Linked DNA regions of Homo sapiens: region 1 is linked to region 2. The links are contacts of gene promoters, found by promoter capture Hi-C in blood cells and fetal thymus (Javierre and others, 2016). All regions are on one chromosome and are shown on one strand. Each heading gives the region's core, a stretch centred on a gene start or on the middle of the fragment in contact. The rest is flanking DNA. Distances are from core to core; before and after follow the strand shown.

The links. The method cuts DNA at HindIII sites, captures the fragments that hold promoters and counts their contacts. A CHiCAGO score of 5 or more calls a contact.
Region 1: a fragment that was not itself captured here is called in contact with the fragment with the promoter of SGSM3 in region 2 in 2 of 17 cell types (endothelial precursors and M2 macrophages); the score reaches 6.0 in endothelial precursors.

Annotation. Positions count from the first base shown.
Region 1 is chr22:40,640,787-40,643,809 of GRCh38, reverse strand. No RefSeq gene overlaps it. Among named protein-coding and RNA genes, the nearest start is that of MRTFA, 5.6 kb to the right of the region's middle. The HindIII fragment of the contact is 3,975 bases long and covers 1-3,023 here.
Region 2 is chr22:40,369,285-40,371,984 of GRCh38, reverse strand. SGSM3 (small G protein signaling modulator 3) reads right to left here and starts at 1,391. Exons shown (of 22, transcript NM_015705.6): 1 at 1,297-1,391. ADSL (adenylosuccinate lyase) reads right to left here. Exons shown (of 13, transcript NM_000026.4): 13 at 2,618-2,700. RefSeq lists silencers at 1,006-1,175, 1,236-1,345 and an enhancer at 1,496-1,705. The HindIII fragment of the contact is 2,317 bases long and covers 1-1,543 here.

The DNA of each region.
Region 1 (3,023 bases), core at 383-2,882, 270 kb before region 2:
AGGTTGGAAGGAGGAAGATCAGTCTTCAGTGGTTCGCTGAAGGTTCCTGTCATTGGATTTGCCCCTTTCAGCAGCAGCAGCAGAATCAGAAGTGGTGGCCAGTGGATAGGTGACAGAATGAAATCAGCACATGTTTTCAGCAAGGTGCAAAGAAGGATGGAAATGGACAGAAGGACAACTGGCTGCTCATGATTAGCAGAGTGAGGCTTAAAGTTTTACATTTGTGTTAAAGAATTAATTATAGAGGCAGGAGAATTGCTTGAATCCGGGAGACGGAGGTTGCAGTGAGCCAAGATCCCGCCACTGCAATCCAGCCTGAGCGACAAGAGCGAGACTCCATCTCAAAAAAAAAAAAAAAAGAATTAATTATAGAAATACAAGAGTGAATTTGGCTTAGTATCAGTTTTTGGGAAAAGCTCTAGAGGGAAGGGGGTGGAAAGGATTGGTTATAAAGTCAGGTTGAGCCAAAGGGTCAGTGCAGCCACTAGATCTGCCGATGCAAATATAAAATGAAGCCAGGCACGGTGGCTCACACCTGTAATCCCAACACTTTGGGAGACCAAGGCGGGCAGATCACTGGAGGCCAGGAGTTCAAGACCAGCCTGGCCAACATGGTGAAACCCTGCTATCTACTAAAAATACAAAAAAATTAGCCAGGTGTGGTGGTACATGCCTGTAGTCCCAGCTACTCAGGAGGCTGAGGCAGGAGAATCACTTGGACCCGGGAGGCAGACGTTGCAGTGAGCCAAGATTGCACCACTGCACTCCAGCCTGGGCAATAGAACAAAACTCTGTCATAAATAAATAAATAAAAATTAAAAAAAAAGTAATAAAAAATAAATAAAATGAACCAGGCACGGTGGCTTACAATTGTAATCCCAGTGTTTGGGAGGCTGAGGTGGAAGGATCACTTGAAGCCAAGAGTTTGGGACCAGCTTGGGCAACATAACCAGGCCCTGTCTCTACAAAAAAAATTTAAAAATTAGTTGAGCAAGGTGGTGAGCATCTGTACTTCCAAGCTCCTTGGGAGGCTGAGGTGGGAAGATCGCTTGAGCCCAGGTGTTGGAGGCTGCAGTGAGCTATGATCACACCACTGCACTCTAGCCTGAGTGACAGAGTAAGACCCTGTCTCCATATACACATGCAAAAAGTATAGTTTAATAGTAGACGTAGGGAGTCAGACCGAGGAAGGCCACAGGCTCACGGTACTGTTTGGCAGTCAGGTCAGGTCATACCTGAGCACTTTACATAGTTACATTTTTGCTGCAACAATAGGAATGTGTTAGCCCACAGCGGACAACTCAAATGATGCCTCCTGAGCAGGTAAGTGCACCCATGCCCCAGCTGCTGTGAGTGTTGGCTGCTAAGGGTTCCCAGCTGCACAAAATTTCAGAGAATTGCCCTCATTTGAAGGGAGTGGCCTTGGGGACCTTAACTTCCTTAGGGCCCACAACCACTGACATAGACTAGGGGACAAAAAGCTGTCCATGCCTCAAGGTGAGTGACTGTGGTGTTGTTTCTGCCCAGAGCTCTCCTATGTGCATCAGGCCAAGGAAAGATCAGGCTGAGCCTTACTCGAGTCTCTTCCCTTCTCTGTCTTGCTCATCTTCCTCCCTTACAGGTTTTTCCTCCCTCACTAAGTCCTGTTCATTGGCTCTGTCTTACAGGCTCTGTTTCTAAGGGCCCTGACCCAAGACACCTATGAAATCAAATAGCCAGAAAAGAACTGGATCTAGGTTCTCAAACAGAGCTATCATCCGTCATGGCCTTTATGCGTATTTCAGCTGTGATTGTTTGGTTTTGTGTTGGCTTTATTCTCCCTGTGGTCCTCACTGTTAATGCCAGGTGTACAGCCAGACAGTTCAGCAACCCTCCTGTAGAGAAAACTCCATCCCAGTAGTTGTTTTTTTTAAGATGGAGTTTTGCTTTTGTTTCCCAGGCTGGAGTGCAATGGCATGATCTTGGCTCACTGCAGCCTCTGCCTCCCAGGTTCAAGCGATTCTCCTGCCTCAGCCTCCCAGGTTCAAGCGATTCTCCTGCCTTAGCCTCCCAAGTAGCTGGGATTACAGGCGCGAGCCACAACAGCCAGCTGTATTTAGTAGAGACGGGGTTTTACCATATTGGTCAGACTGGTCTTGAACTCCTGACCTCAGGTGATCCCCCCGCCTCCCAAATTGCTGGGATTACAGGCATGTGCCACTGCTCTCGGCCCCATCCCAGTAGTTCTAACAAGATGCCAGGACTCACGCTAACTGGACTGTCTTGATCACATGTCTTTCCCTAAATCAATCACTACAAATGATGGCAGGCAAGGGTTGGAGTGCTTTCATTGGTTAGGACTGGGCCATGTGATCCCCCCCACCCCCCAACCCCAAGGTGAGTAGTGAGTCATATTCCCAAGGCAGCTACAGGGATAGACAGTGGGGCGGAGTGGTTCTGTTACCAGCAAGGCCTCCTGATCTAGACCTCAAGAGAGGGTTCTTGGATCTCGTGCAAGAAAGAATTTGAGGCGAATTCATAGAGTTAAGTGAGAGCAAGTTTATTAGAGAAGTAAGGAAACAAGAGGCCAGGTGCAGTGGCTCAGGCCCGTAATCCCAGCACTTTCGGAGGCTGAGTCGGGGTGCAGATCACTTGAGGCCAGGAGTTCTAGACCAGCCTGGCCAATATGGTGAAAGCCCCTCTCTACCAAAAATACAAAAATTAGCCAGGTGTGGTGGCACGCACCTGTAGTCTCAGCTACTCTGGAGGCTGAGGGAGGAGAATCGCTTGAACCTGGGAGGCAGAGGTTGCAGTGAACTGAGATTGTGCCACTGCACTCCAGCCTGGGTGACAGGGCAAGACTCTGTGTCAAAAAAAGGAAAAAAAAAAAAAGAGATACAAAAGAATGGCCACTCCATAGGCAGAGCAGTGGCATGGGCCACTCAGCTGCTTATACTTATTGTCACTTCTCGATTATATGCTAAGCAAGGGATGGATTATTCATGAATTTTCTGGGAAAGGGGTGGGCAATCCCTGGAACTGGA
Region 2 (2,700 bases), core at 142-2,641:
CTCACGCCTGTAATCCCAGCACTTTGGGAGGCCCGAGACGGGCGGATCACCTGTGGTCAGGAGTTCGAGACCAGCCTGGCCAACATGGCGAAAAACCCCGTCTCTATTAAAAATACACAAATTAGCCGGGCGTGGTGGCGGGCGCCTGTAATCCCAGCTACTCGGTAGGCTGAGGCAGGAGAATCACTTGAATCCGGGAGGCGGAGCTTGCAGTGAGCCGAGATCATGTCATTGCACTCCAGCCCGGGCAAGAGCGAAACTCCCGTCTTAAAAAAAAAATAGAAAAGAAAAGAAAAGAAGAATTACAAATTAATCACCAAGAACAGAAATAGTGTAAAAACAAAGATGTAATTCAACTGTTTAGAGTGCAGAGATAATTGGAACTAAAAGAGCAAGAAAAGCGGGAAACATATGTACCTATAAACCTAATCACAAACCTGTCACAAAAACTACGAGTAAACGAGTCGAAGTTGAAAATGAGTTTTTGTGAATCAGAGTCTGATTTGACTTGAATTTACTAAGAAAGAATAAGAAAGGTGTAGAACATTCCAGGACATCTCTATCCCACCGCAAAACAAAAAAGAGCCATCAACCCACCACAAACGTGCAGCGTGAGACTGGAAGATACACTAGTCACCCAGTCACTGAAAACAACCTTTGAAACATCTTTATTTTTCTTTCCAAATAAAAAAGAGCCTAGGTCAGTAAACTAAGTATGAGAATAATTTTCAAAATTCCAGTCCTAACCACACCGGATGATTCTGGCTAACGTATGCCTCAGTTTCCCCCGTGCTAAAATGCAAACACACCGGTGTTCCGAGTCTCGGGCCTGGATCCGAGCCCGGGTTCTGCACCTGGATCTGAATCTTAAAGGGAAAACCGCAAGTTAAACCTGAGGAGGAGTCTGCAGCTGTCCCGGTGCCAGAGCCAGCCAGGCTCTTTTTAGAAAGCCCCCCGCCTCAGGCGCGGTTTTCGTAAAACCGCTCCCGGCTGCCAGCGCGGTGGATTCCGGCTGGCGCCCCGAACACCTGAGGTGGCCTCGGCCGTCTAGGGGCGGCCGCACCGGAGGACGCAGCCGACCTCCCCGCCCCGCCGCGTCCCCGGCCCCCATTCCAACGGCGACGCGAGCAAGGTCGGCCCGGCGGCTCTCCGGCCCGAGGCGGTGCTTCTCTCGTGGGCGCCTTCGGCCCATACGACCCTCGGTCGGACAGTCCGACCACAGCCGCCCCGCAGCCCCCGCCTGAGGGGAACTTGTAGGCGCCGGTGGGTCTCCGCTGACTCCCGCCCCGCACTCACCTGCCCCACGGGCCACCTCAGCGCCAATCCGGGTCGGGTTAGCAGCTTCCCCACTCGCACCCAGTCAGCGCTCAGCGGCGCCTAAGCGCACGCGTGGCGGGGCGTGGCATGGGCGGCCGCGGGTCATGCTGGGGGCTGTAGTCGTTCCCGCCCACTAGGCGGGGCGCGTCCAGGGGCTTTGCGCCCCCATCCCAAGGCCAGCATGCATAGCGATGATTTCTTCGTCTGCACCGCAGCCTGAGAAGCTTGGGACAGTATGGTGTGGACCAGCAGTCAGGGTGGTGGGAGATAGACGCTGCAAATAACTTGCTAATTTTTTTTTTTTTTTTTTTTTGAGATGGAGTCTCGCTCTGTCACCCAGGCTGAAGTGCAGTGGCGTGATCTCGGCTCACTGCAACCTCCACCTCCCAGGTTCAATCAGTTCTCTGCCTCAGCCTCCCGAGTAGCTGGGATTACAGGCGCCCGCCACCACGCCCAGCTAATTTTTTTGTATTTTTAGTACAGTATTTTTAGTAGAGACGGGGTTTCACCATGTTGGCCAGGCTGGTCTCGAACTCCTGACCTCAGATGATCTGCCCGCTTCAGCCTCCCAAAGTGCTGGGATTACAGGCGTGAGCCACCGCGCCAGGCCGGAAAACGAAATTTTCTGAGTACCTTCTGTGTCAGATTCTATGCTGTGCAATTCCCATCTCACCAACCCTCACATCCACCTAGGCTTCATATCACCTTTCTAGGGACTCCTAACCCTCGTGCTTCCACTAAAGCTGTGTTTACAAACATCAGGCTCTCCTGGTTCTTAAATGAAACTGAGCATCAGCCAGGGAAAGAGGGCATTAAGTGTCCAGGTGTCTGACTTCAGCTGAGCAGACATTTCATCAGTTGCCCCAAGTTCTGCCCAGAACCTGACATCTGGGTAGTTCTGATGCTGGAGTCCGTGTGAATTTAAACCAATCTTAAAGAAAATACAACAGCCTGGGTTAACAGAGTGAGACCCTGTCTCTACAAAAAACAACAAAAAATGAACCACGTGTGGTTGTGTGTGCCATAGTCCCAGCTACTCAAGAGGCTGAGGTGAGAGGATCGCTTGAGCCCAGGAAATCAAGGCTGCAGTGAACTGTGGTCATGCCACTGCACTCCAGCTTGGGCGACAGAGCAAGATCTTGTCTATATATATATATAAAAGATAGATATATGAATGTATATTATATATAATATATATGAATGTATATTATATATAATATATATGAATGTATATTTTATATATATACATAAATGTACATTTAATATATATATGTTTTCCAGTGAACACGCAGACCACCCATCAAATTAAAATGTTACATGGGAAAATCAGATTACAAAGTTGCATACAAGTATGTAAATACAAAAATAAAGGAGAATGGAAAA